Regions from separate parts of the Homo sapiens genome. Here regions 2, 3 and 4 are each linked to region 1. The links are contacts of gene promoters, found by promoter capture Hi-C in human tissues and cell types (Jung and others, 2019). All regions are on one chromosome and are shown on one strand. The core of a region is centred on a gene start or on the middle of the fragment in contact, and the rest is flanking DNA. Distances in the headings are between cores, read along the strand shown. Region 1 holds the start of RBM26 (RNA binding motif protein 26). Region 2 has its middle 110 kb from the start of SPRY2. Region 3 has its middle 66 kb from the start of LINC01080. Region 4 overlaps LOC105370276 (a long non-coding RNA gene).

Region 1 (2,862 bases), core at 58-2,557:
AAGTACATTCATATTGTGCAACCCACACAACACCACTCATCTCCAGAATCTAAATCATCCTAAACTGAAACTCTATTATCCACTGAAATATAACTCCTCATTTCCCCTTCTCCTGGGCACCCTCTCCACCCCTGCTCTTGCTACCATTCCACCTTCTGTCTCTAGGAGTTTTGACTACTCTAGGTACTTAATGTAAGTGGAATCATAATATTTGTCCTTTCATGTCTGGTTTATTTCACTCAGCTAAATCACTTTAATCAACACCCTGGTTATTCAGTAGCTGGATTCTAATTTGTATTCTACTCTATATGCTGTATTTTAAAACAAATGTCTTGCTTTGTAGTTCATAATCTTTCCACCTAATCCTTAAAGACACTTCACTCTAGCAAATTATAAACTCAAGAGTTCCTAAGAACAATTTAGCCTATCGGTGTCTCTCATAAAGAGCTTTTATTGATCTACTTACTGAAAATGTCTTTAGATTGTGAATATTTTCATTCCATTACAGTTCATGGAACGTAGACCCTTTGTAAAATTCCACCTAGTATCTAAATAGAACTCAAGCAGGAATCAAACTTATTTGATCACCCAGGAAAATAGTTTATTTATTTGGGTTGCTAATATGAAGACTCTCTCTTTTGATACTATATAATTTCCCGATCTGAGATAGGGCTGAATTTGCTCTAAATAAAGAGAATTTTAAAAATAACAAAACTTATCTTTAGCTGGGGGAAAGTGCAGGCTGGAAACTACCTGAGAGACGTGAAGGTTCTCTCACCTTTCCCTTGTGGGCAGCCCTCAGTCATTAGGGCTCTACCAGCAAGTCAAGTACTGTTGGACAAGACACTAATCCTCTGGCGGTCTCATTGGGCTCCATTAGACCAGCCTGTGTTTACAAACCTCGTTCACATCACAGCATACACAGAATATGATACTGGTAGGGCACTTAGGTAAACTGAGGAGGTAGTGTGCTCGGCACCTGGAACCTACGGGCCGCCTGGTGTCGCGCACGCGGGAGTGTACGCTCTCAAAGAGCGATCCATCCGGCAGGACCGTTCCAGCTGACAGGCCACGGCCGTCTTACCGGGGACGAGCTGGGGTTCCCGCTGTTTCTGAAGTCAGCGGTCTTTTCCTCCTTGTAAGAAATAAGGTCTTTATATCATAAAGGTAAGCAAAGAATAAAAAGGCACAAAGGCCGCAAGCAACGCACACACGCAAAAATCGAACTACAGCACTCGACCCGCGCATTCTCCGCCGACCTTACGTCTCTCCCAGCAGGCTCCGGGAGCCACCGCGAGACTTCATCAATTCTCGCGAGATTTACCGGCAGCCATCTTCTTGGGGGTGCTGGGAGCCGGGAAGACCCCCTGAATCGTTCCCATTGAGCTGCCCTTCGCCTTCGCTTTCTTTACTTTTGCCTTTTCGACGTAGCCAACAAGCACCTGGTCCCGAGGCTGAGAGAAGGCTCGGGTCTAAGCGCGTGTCGCGCTTCCGGTCTGGGTAGATTTGCTGGGGAAGAGGGAAGGGGGAGGGCCCGGGCAAACCGTTGCTGTTTCAGCCCGGGCTGGGGGCCGGGGACGGGGAGCTCCTGGCACCCCGTGCACTTGTGGCCTGCGGCGGTCCTTGCAGAGCTGTTCGCCGACCGGGGCCCGCGGGAACCTGCCACCGGCGCCTCCCACCGCGGCCCACGCGGGCGGCGCGCGGAGGAGGGGGCGGGGGCAGCGGCGGCTGTAGCGGCCGCGACCTGGGCGGGCGGAGGAGTGTGACGGGCCTTAGGGCCGCTGTGGATGGTTTCTAAAATGATCATTGAAAACTTCGAGGCACTCAAGTCCTGGCTCAGCAAGACTCTCGAGCCCATGTGAGTATCCGGGGGATATCTCTTTGCAGGGATGGCAGTGGGAGATAGGCGGACCCAGAGATCTGTGCAGTTTCCCCAAGTGCCTGCGGTGGAGGCCGAAGCGGTGAACGGAGGTCCCAGGGTTCTGTGGCTTCTCCTCCTCGTCCACCTCGCTTCCAGATTCAGGATACCCCCGAGAGCCTGAGTCGAGCTTTATTTTATTGCTGAGCTGCTCTCGTTTTCCCGTTATATATAGACCGTCTCCAACCCCCACCCGCAATATTTTCCGGGGGCCTCAAAATCGGTTTATTTTAGTGAAACCGACTGTATTTTACTTCCTACAGATTATTTTACCTTGTTTTTCTAAATGAAGTAGACGGCCTTTATTGGGGATTCGGGCAGTTCTAGCTTAAATCACTCACGTTTCACCTAAATATAATTCCTGAAAGCAAGGCCACGTCTCCCATGTGCTGTCTGGCTCATCTGCACCTCTCTTCACTGATTGAAGATGTAACAGGTGCTGAGGTGGCCAGTAAAATTCCCCTTTCCCGCCTACGCGTTCGTTAGCTTGGAGAGGAGGAAGAAAATTGAATCTTCATCCATATGGAATATTTAGCAGTTTTAAGTGGGATGCTATAGATAGATTTTGTGTTGGGGGCTGCGGTTAGAGTGCTGAAATAGTCTTAGATTGGAAAATTTAAGGAGTGTTTTGACGACTTGTTAATACAAAATATGACATGGACCAAAGTGCTTAATCAGAATTGGTTGATTTACAATAATGCAATGGGGAAAATTCACGTATTTAATAAAGTTATTAGGTACCTACTGTATACTACGGGAGGCTTTGGGGATAGAGCTTTTAAATTCTAAAATCGACAAGACATAAATAAATCCAGATATTAATAGAGTTGTGACTATTGTAATAATAGAGAATCATGTAAAAGTGATTATGAGGGGGGCTATTTCACATTGGTCAAGGAAGGACTCTCAGAGAAGGTGACATTGGAGTAACATCTAAAGAGAAG
Region 2 (2,782 bases), core at 282-2,781, 820 kb before region 1:
TGCCGTGAAGATAAACTGTGAAAAGACTTTTTTAAGCAGAGAAGGTTTGGGGTAAATATTAGTTATTTTTTTGGCCCACTGAACCCAATGCCTCACTCACTACAATGGCCTGGCTTTTACTGAGAAAATATTTACTTGAGAACTAATTATATTCCAGGCACTATAATAACTGTAGGAACATAATACTTATAAATGGATGGACGAAGGAGTGACTGGATGCCTTCTAGTAGCCTATGAACTGGTAAAGGCGCCAGATGAGTTAATACATGCTTATGCATCAGTATAATATGAGCCATGAGAAATCACTTAAATTGGGGGCAGAGAGCATAGACAGAGAGAAATTTATCCAGATGACAAGGCCTTTAAAAATAAGGAAGAGTTATTCAAAAAGTGAAAGAGAAAAATAGAGGGTCTGAATAAAACGAGAGTGAACCATATGAGCAAAGACACCAAATGAAAAAACAAAAAAAGAATCCTGATGCTTTGGGGACACTGAGAATGGCTACAGGGGAAACATGCAGGAGTTGCAGGAAATGAGGCTGAAGTAGGCTTGGGTATTATTACAAAGGGTCTTATGTGTCATGTTAAGCACCCAGGGTTTTAAATGGAAGGCATTGAAAATAGATTATTATACCAGGGAGTGACAAGATTTGTTTAGGATTTTAGAAAGGTCGTTTTGTGTATTTGGATGGATGGGAGTTCAGTTAATGGAGTGAGGGAAGCCAGCCTGATAATTGTGCTTCCAACAGTGACCCAGTTCTGATTTAGTCATTGAACATTTAATAAAAATTTATTGAATACAATCAGAGTGATTCAGAGACCATTTCCAAGGAAAAATAATAAGATTTTAAAGAAAAAAACAGTGGAAGCAGGGATGGAGAGAGAGGCAGTTACAAAATAGAGAGATGGATAGGTATAAAATAGACAAGAGAAAGAGATAATTTGCAAGTACTTCAAATGGCCTAATTGTGCTTAATCTATTATGTAAATATAATGCAGGAAATGACATTATTCTTAACAATATGATTTAATTTTACTTCGATTTTTTAGAATACAATTTTCCATTAGAAATATAAACATATATCAGAAAATAAGCTTATTTAAAATGCAGTGTTAAAATTAGGCTTGATGAAAACAATTTATTATTGCATGAAACAAATAAGCAAACAAACAAGCATGTTCTAGCATCCATATGTTCTTTGTATCTATGAACTCTTAATGGAAAAGTTGGCAGAATTAATTTTTTAGAAATTGTTTGTAATTACTTTTATTATTTATTTATATTGAGTTTATTTCCAAGAGTATTTAAGAGAGTAATTTATTCATAACACTATAACAAAATTATAAGAAGTATCATCATCATAACAATCAAAAGTTCTCTCTCAACTCATTGCAAAGCTCTGTATAATTACAAGACCATTCTTATCCATTGGTTACCAATCCATTGACCTGATTGTTAAAAAGAGCCTCGTACCTCCACTGTGCCTCTCGCCACGTGATCTTTGCAGACACCGTCTCCCTTTCACCTTCTACCATGAGTAGAAACAGCCTGAGGCCCTAACCAGATGCAAATGTCCAATCTTGAACTTTTCCAGACATCAGAATTGTGAGCCAAGTAAACCTTTCTTTCTTTATAAATTACCCAGGCTCAGGTATTCCTTTATAGCTACACAAAACAGACTACAATACATAGCATTTACATTGTATTAGGTATTTGAAGTAATCTAGAGAGGATTTAAAGCGTATGGGAAGATGTGGGTAGATTATATGTAAATGTTGTATCCCTTTATATCAAGAACTTGAGTATCCAGTGACTTTGGTACCCATGAGTGTCCTGGAACAATCCCCTATGGATACTGAGGGAACAATTGCTCTTGAATAATAAAAAAGTAAATTTTTAATGAAATTTTTATTGATCAAATTTAAAATATAGTAATAATTGAGTATAACTTTTGTGTAACATACGTCTACTAATGAGAATACAATTCTTTTGTGGGGATAATATTTTATTTAATTGGGGTTCAAAATTAGTGTTTCCTATGATCAAAATTGATTGCACATGTTTATCTGTTAATGTTGATTTGTAAAATGTGTATGATATTTTATCTATTTCATCTTGGAAAATGTGCTTTTAGACAGACACGTGTTTATTTTTAGCATCTGACTTTAACTGAGCTTATTTATCACTTGGAAATAATTTATATAAGAATTCTATTATGTTTTTTCCTGATATTTGCATTTTAGGATGTGATTACATCTCAGATTATTAACTTCAAGTTGAGTACTAGGCAGAAGCTCCTGAATTATATATTTAAATGGATTTTTTGAAACATAGAAATTTCCTTCATACTTGTACCATGTTTGGAAAATGTTACTTGAACTGTAGTAGGGGGTCAAAAGATACATGCACTATGTATTTTTGTAGGAATGAAGATCTTGCTCTTTATTTTAACCTTTGACAGAATGGGACATGTATAAAGCAGCTTAACATTACTGGTGATTTAAACAATGTTAGTTTTTGTCAAAATGTCTTCACTGAAGTATAAATTTCTCATGTAGTGCTATTTGACCTTGCAATGTTAGGGTGAGTTTATGAAGAAACATTTTCAAGTCTGCAGCAAAGGCTAACTTCCAAAGCCATTCGGTTTTTCATAATAGTGATTGAGAATCCTTCTTGCAGAAAAAAATCAATCTTGGTCCTGGGCTTAAAAAAAAATCACAGTTAAACTTTCTTACTGCTAAACCATCAAATTCCTGGGTGGTAGGGCAAGTCGGAATATTT
Region 3 (2,791 bases), core at 122-2,621, 540 kb before region 1:
GCAGTAAGCAAATATTGTATGTGTATTATTTCATTTAATTTCACAGCAGCACCATGAAGCAAATGTGTTAGTGCAGACCCTTTAAAAATGCATAATAAAGCTGACAAAATACAAAATACTCAAAGACTCAAGGCTAGGAAGGAGATAGGAACCAAAGAGGTAAGCTGAGACCAATGGTGTAGTGGATATCAGAGTTTTGTAAATACCTGAGTTTGAAGGTTTAGGTTTTAAGATAAAATGAAGTGCTAGAGACTGGAGACATGGCCTTGGGCCTATGAAATACAGGAGTTGGAACTAAACCCCCTGCATAAATTCAGGATCAGGAAAAGTACCTCATCAGTAAAAAGGGGATTAGAAAAATCTATCAAAAAGCAAAGGGAACTATAAGGTTACATTTTGGTTCCCCCTGAAAACTGGGTAGGAAAAAAATCTCCTCTGAGAACTTGCAACTAAAGTCAGCTGGTACACAGGTGTGGGGTTCAAATTTCAATTTATATAATTCAAATTCAATATATTTAAATTCTTTTTTTTTTTTTTTAGACAGAGTCTCGCTCTGTCACCCGGGCTGGAGTGCAGTGGCACAATCTCGGCTCACTGCAACCTCCACCATCAAGAGATTCTCCTGCCTCAGCCTCCCGATTAGCTGGAACTACAGGCACCCACCACCATGCCCTGATAATTTTTGTATTTTTAGTATAGGCAGGGCTTCACCATGTTGGCCAGGCTGGTCTCGAACTCCTGACCTCAAAAGATCCACCCACCTTGGCCTCCCAAAGTGCTGGGATTATAGACATGAGCCACTGCACCTGGCCTCAAATTTATACAATGTACATGATCTGAGAAACCCCAGGCTGATAAATTTAAAATCATACCCAAATTTAAGGGTGCCTAACAAAAAACAAAAAGGAACTCTTTAGAGAGACATACCTAGGCCTCAGGGAATTGCCAGATGTAGGGTTCAGAGGAAGATGAGCTCACAGCTCACAATTACAAAACACAAGCCCAATAAAACTATTTCAATGGAGCTGACAAAAGCCGTCAAAATGGAATTAGATGCTTTCAATTAGGACATTAAATATTGAAGCTATTGGGTACAGGGAAGGAGAAAAAAAGAGAGAAAGAGGAAAGAGATTTTTCTTGCAGGGAGAAGGAAAAACTTACACATAGCTAAATAAATTTCTAAGTGATCTATATTTAAAATATGTGAATATAATAAATTTGATATGTTAATAGAATTCTGTACCTAACAAATGAAGAATAAACATTATCTAGAATGCACAGAACATTTACAAAATCAACCATGTGCCAGGGCTTAAAGCAAATGTCAACATCATGTAAGCATAAATATCATGCAAATTATGTTCTCTAATCATAATACATGGATCCAAGAAAAAAAAAAAATAGAAATTTTAAAATGCTTTAAACAATGCTGAAAGTGGTACATCTCAAACAGTTTTGGTATTACAATGTTGCTAAGAACATTCTTGTATGTCTCTTGTAGGTCATGTACAAGTTTCTCTAAAATATATACCTAAAGATTGGAATTTTTTGGCTACAGGACATGGTCAGGTTAAACTTTTAAGATAATGTCAAATTGTTTTCTAAGCTTGTTGTATCAGTTTATGCTTAGCAGTTATAAATACAACATTATTTATAATACAGTTATTCCCAAATTTTCTGCATTATAATAAAGTATTTATTATAAAGTTCTAAATTTTTTGTATTATGAAAATCCTGGATTAAATATTCTTATATACAAATTTTTAAATCTTGTCCTTTTTTTATAGTGTAATTTCCTGGGACTGAAATTCTGGTCCCAGGTATGCACGCATATTTGAAACTTCATTATGTATTATCTCATTTGCCCTTCAGAAATATCCATGAGGGTCCATTTTTCCATATACTTGCCAATACAAAATAGTATCAACGTTTTCTGTCTTTGCCAATCTTATAGTTGAAAAATGACATCTCATTGTTGTTTCCATATTTTTCAGTTGGTTTTAATATCTTTTCATATATTTATTATTCTTTTGCATGTTTATTTGGGGATTTACGTTAAATTGTGAATAATTTGAATCAGCCTAAGAATATATATGATAATCATGTAGAAAATGCCCAAACTTCTCACCATTCTTTAGATATTCCCCATACATTTATATACATATTTAGCAATAATGACTTGAGGCCATCAATACTGTGGTAATAAAAATAGGTTTTATTAAGCTTTTATTGTTTAAGTTTTATTAAGCTTTAATTTTTTAAGTTTTTATTGTCATGTGGCATACACTTGACTAAGGACTTTACATACCTGGATTATTAATTAATTTTTCTATTCATTTAACAGTTGTTTACTCAGACCCAGGGAGTGACTGGTTGTGCAATGGTGAGCAAAACGAAGCATCTGCCTTTAACTCAGTGAGAGGATGACAATAAATAATCATCAAACACATCATTGCAAAATAGGAAGTGAAATAAAAAGAAGAGCATGATGAAATAGAGAATAACATGGGGTTGTGTATGGATGGAATAATTAAAGAAGGCAAGGGGATCCTAATGAATGAGAAGAAGACAAAAATCCTGGAAGGGAAAGAGCTTTCTTGCGGAAGGAAGACTATATGCAAAGACCTCAGGAAAATGAGAAACTGAAAGATGGGCCCTGTGACTAGCATGAAGTGGGTGAAGGAGAAATGATGTGAAATTAAATTGAAGAAGTCAGCAGGAATTAGACCTCCTACAGCCATGCTGGCCAAGATGCAGAGGCCACTTCATTCCTTGTGCCATGAGAAGCTTA
Region 4 (2,951 bases), core at 399-2,898, 960 kb before region 1:
AGGGATCCTACCATTAGTATTCCTGACCTCAGAGCCCAGCCATAGAAACTGAGTCTTGTTTTCGCTTTGATTCACTCCCTGTTGACTCCAGGTCCTCTAGCACTGGAATCCAAGAATTTATGCCCCCTCAGTCCAACCCCTCCACAACATCCACACCCAGCACTCTCTAAAGTCCTTTGTTGGGGCTCAGGAAGTGATACTCAAAAGTAAATATCTCATTGCTCACACTGTATAGAGCCCCGACTTTCATGGAAGCCCATCGGCAACACCACTGCCTGAAATGAGACACAACTGTTAACTGTTTAGCTAGACTGGCCTATTATCAGGACTGAGAGACTGATTCAATGGCTTATGAGACAATCTATCAATCAATTTTTGGACTGTGAAACTTCTTGAGGAAGTTTCAGAATGAGAAATGTTGGGGTTCAGAAAAAGAAACCCCAAAGCGAAGGCTTGCAAAGCAAAGTCTCTCTCCAACCTTCTGCCCTCCTGTCTCTTGCCCCTCATTCTCCCTGAGGCAAGCCATAGAAATTAGAACGCTTTTTCTCTAAAGTCAGTCCTAAAGCCTAAAAATACAACTCTATCCTTCCCCCATCTTTCTGTGTAATACCTGGCCATAAGGAAATTAGACCCTCATTCCAGAGGGGTCCTGCTCCATATCCCAAAGGAAAGCGTTAGCAAAAATTAAAATCCTAAGCCTCTCAACTGACTGAATAGACCCCCCTCTAGGCCAAGGTGATCTGAAAGAAACCTGAAGAACTAGTTCAGGCCATGACAAGAAGTGGGGTCCGACATGCCTTATTATACTCTGTTCTCTTCAGAGTTAAGACACCACTGACCAGCATTAACACTGAAATAGAGATCATAGGCTGGGTGTGGTGGCTCATGCCTGTAATCTCAGCACTTTGGGAGGCCAAGGCAGGTGGATCACCTGAGGTCAGGAGTTCAAGACCAGCCTGGCCAACATGGTAAAACCCCATCTCTACAAAAATACAAAAATTAGCCAGGCATGATGGCAGGTGCCTGTAATCCCAGCTACTTGGGAGGCTGAGGCAGGAGAATTGCTTGAACCCGGGAGACAGAGGTTGCAGTGAGCCAAGATCACACCACTGCACTCCAGCCTGGACAACAGAGCAAGACTATCTCAAAAAAAAAGAAAGAAAGAAAGAAAGAAAGAAATAGAGATCATAAGGCTGACGAAACAGATTCTTTGTAGCAATAAGATAGCAAATTCAACCTAACTCTCTTATAGTATCACATGACAAATAACAGGCCCCCCCCCCAAAAAAAAACAAAGTATTTTACTCCAAAATATATTTATTTGAAATATTTTTGGATGGCCCTGCAAAGCTGTCTCTTGTGGGGAAAATCTACATTCAGTAAATAATCCCCTTCCCTTTCCTTGTCTTTTCCTGACCCAGGAGAGATTTAAGTAAGAGTCTGGCATCTTTTATGTCCCATAAGAGACATTTACATCTATTATTTAAGAGGCTTCACCTACATAGTAAGAACCTTGATTTCCACAAACCTCCTTATCTTAACTCAAGCATTTCTTTATGCTGACTTCAAGTCATCAGGCAAAGCTTAATTATTATCATTATTTTTGTTTTGTTTTGTTTTGTTTTTGAGATAGGGTCTCACTCTGTCACCCAGGCTGCAATGCAGTGGTGCAATCACAACTCACTGCAGCCTTGACTTCCCAGGCTCCAGCAATACTCCTACCTCAGCCTCCCAAGTAGCTGGGTTTACAGGCATGTGCCACCACACCCAGCTAATGTTTGTATTTTTAGTAGAGACGGGTTTTTGCCATGTTGCCCAGGCTGGCTTTGAACTCCTGAGCTCAAGCAATCCACCTCCCTTGGCCTCCTGAAGTGCTGGGATTACAGGCGTGAACCACCACACCCAGCCAAGCTTAATTATTTCAACCAATTGTCAATCAGAAAATCTTTGAATCCATCTATGACGAAGAAGCTCCCCTTCCCCACCTTCCCCCCTCACTTTGAGATGTCCCACCTTTCTGGGCCAAACCAATGTATACCTTACATGCCTATAACTTCTGTCTCCCTAAAATGTATTAAACCAAGCTGTAACACAATCCTCTTAGGTGCATGTTCTTAGGGCCTCCTGAGGCTGTGTCAAAGGCCCTGCCACTCATATTTGGCTCAGAATAAACCTCTTCAAATATCTTACAGAGTTTGGCTTTTTTTGTCAACAAAATAATGCTGTACAGAAAGACCAAGAAAAATCTGGACAGGCTTTGCCGAGTTTCCTGACTCTGTCTATTAGCATCAAAGCATTAGATTTTATCCTTTTTGTCCAATCATATTTTATATGGCTATCCATACTTCATTGAACATCAGCATAAAACGCAACAATTTTCCCTGCATCTTTGGGTCTTCATTCTGAAGCCTCCCATATCATATCAAACTGTGCTTAAATAAATGTATTATTCTTTTTTCTTGATAACCTGCCTTTGTTATAGGGGTGTTAGCCATAATGCTTATGATGGAGAGGAAAGTAATCACCTCATTTCTGCCTCTACACTTTCCAGAGCCTAGAAATTCCACATCTAAACTCCAGCAGCAATGGCTGGATCTCCTTATTAGAAACTGCTTCTCCCTGATGTTAATTGTCACTTGCTAAACCTCTCCGTGGTATTTTCCAGAGTGTTAAAATGATCTGATGATGGTATCTTGCACACCAGTGATGAGTAAGGTTGATTTGGGAGATCTGACCTTCTACTCTGTTATTTCCTTTCTGTTTTACCATTCCGCAAGCACACCTCACAAAAATGACTTTTAAGAAGACAGCAGCTCTCAGTAGAGGACATACAGTTCCTTTTCTTTCCCAATGAGTGACACCTCCTTCCTTTCACTCCTTATTGCCTATTGCTTAGGGTTCTCCTCATTCTGCACCCCATTCCCAGCTTGTTGATTGTTTAGAGGCAACAC

What was found. The method cuts DNA at HindIII sites, captures the fragments that hold promoters and counts their contacts. A contact is called where the count stands out against the background at its distance.
Region 2: a contact is called between a fragment that was not itself captured here and the fragment with the promoter of RBM26 in region 1, in 1 of the 25 tissues and cell types used here (dorsolateral prefrontal cortex).
Region 3: a fragment that was not itself captured here is called in contact with the fragment with the promoter of RBM26 in region 1 in 2 of the 25 tissues and cell types used here (dorsolateral prefrontal cortex and hippocampus).
Region 4: a fragment that was not itself captured here is called in contact with the fragment with the promoter of RBM26 in region 1 in 1 of the 25 tissues and cell types used here (mesendoderm cells).

What each region holds. Positions count from the first base shown.
Region 1 is chr13:79,404,700-79,407,561 of GRCh38, reverse strand. It overlaps RBM26 (RNA binding motif protein 26), which reads left to right and starts at 1,307. Exons shown (of 22, transcript NM_001366735.2): 1 at 1,307-1,858. The coding sequence starts at 1,788. RBM26-AS1 (RBM26 antisense RNA 1) reads right to left here and starts at 1,253. Exons shown (of 7, transcript NR_038991.1): 1 at 1,085-1,253. RefSeq lists enhancers at 1,022-1,321, 651-1,642 and a silencer at 1,552-1,751. The HindIII fragment of the contact is 11,102 bases long and covers 1-2,862 here.
Region 2 is chr13:80,227,919-80,230,700 of GRCh38, reverse strand. No RefSeq gene overlaps it. Among named protein-coding and RNA genes, the nearest start is that of SPRY2, 110 kb to the left of the region's middle. The HindIII fragment of the contact is 3,415 bases long and covers 1-2,782 here.
Region 3 is chr13:79,943,456-79,946,246 of GRCh38, reverse strand. No RefSeq gene overlaps it. Among named protein-coding and RNA genes, the nearest start is that of LINC01080, 66 kb to the left of the region's middle. The HindIII fragment of the contact is 4,166 bases long and covers 1-2,791 here.
Region 4 is chr13:80,365,027-80,367,977 of GRCh38, reverse strand. It overlaps LOC105370276 (a long non-coding RNA gene), which reads right to left. Exons shown (of 4, transcript XR_001749939.2): 4 at 1,926-2,951. Among named protein-coding and RNA genes, the nearest start is that of SPRY2, 25 kb to the right of the region's middle. The HindIII fragment of the contact is 3,828 bases long and covers 1-2,951 here.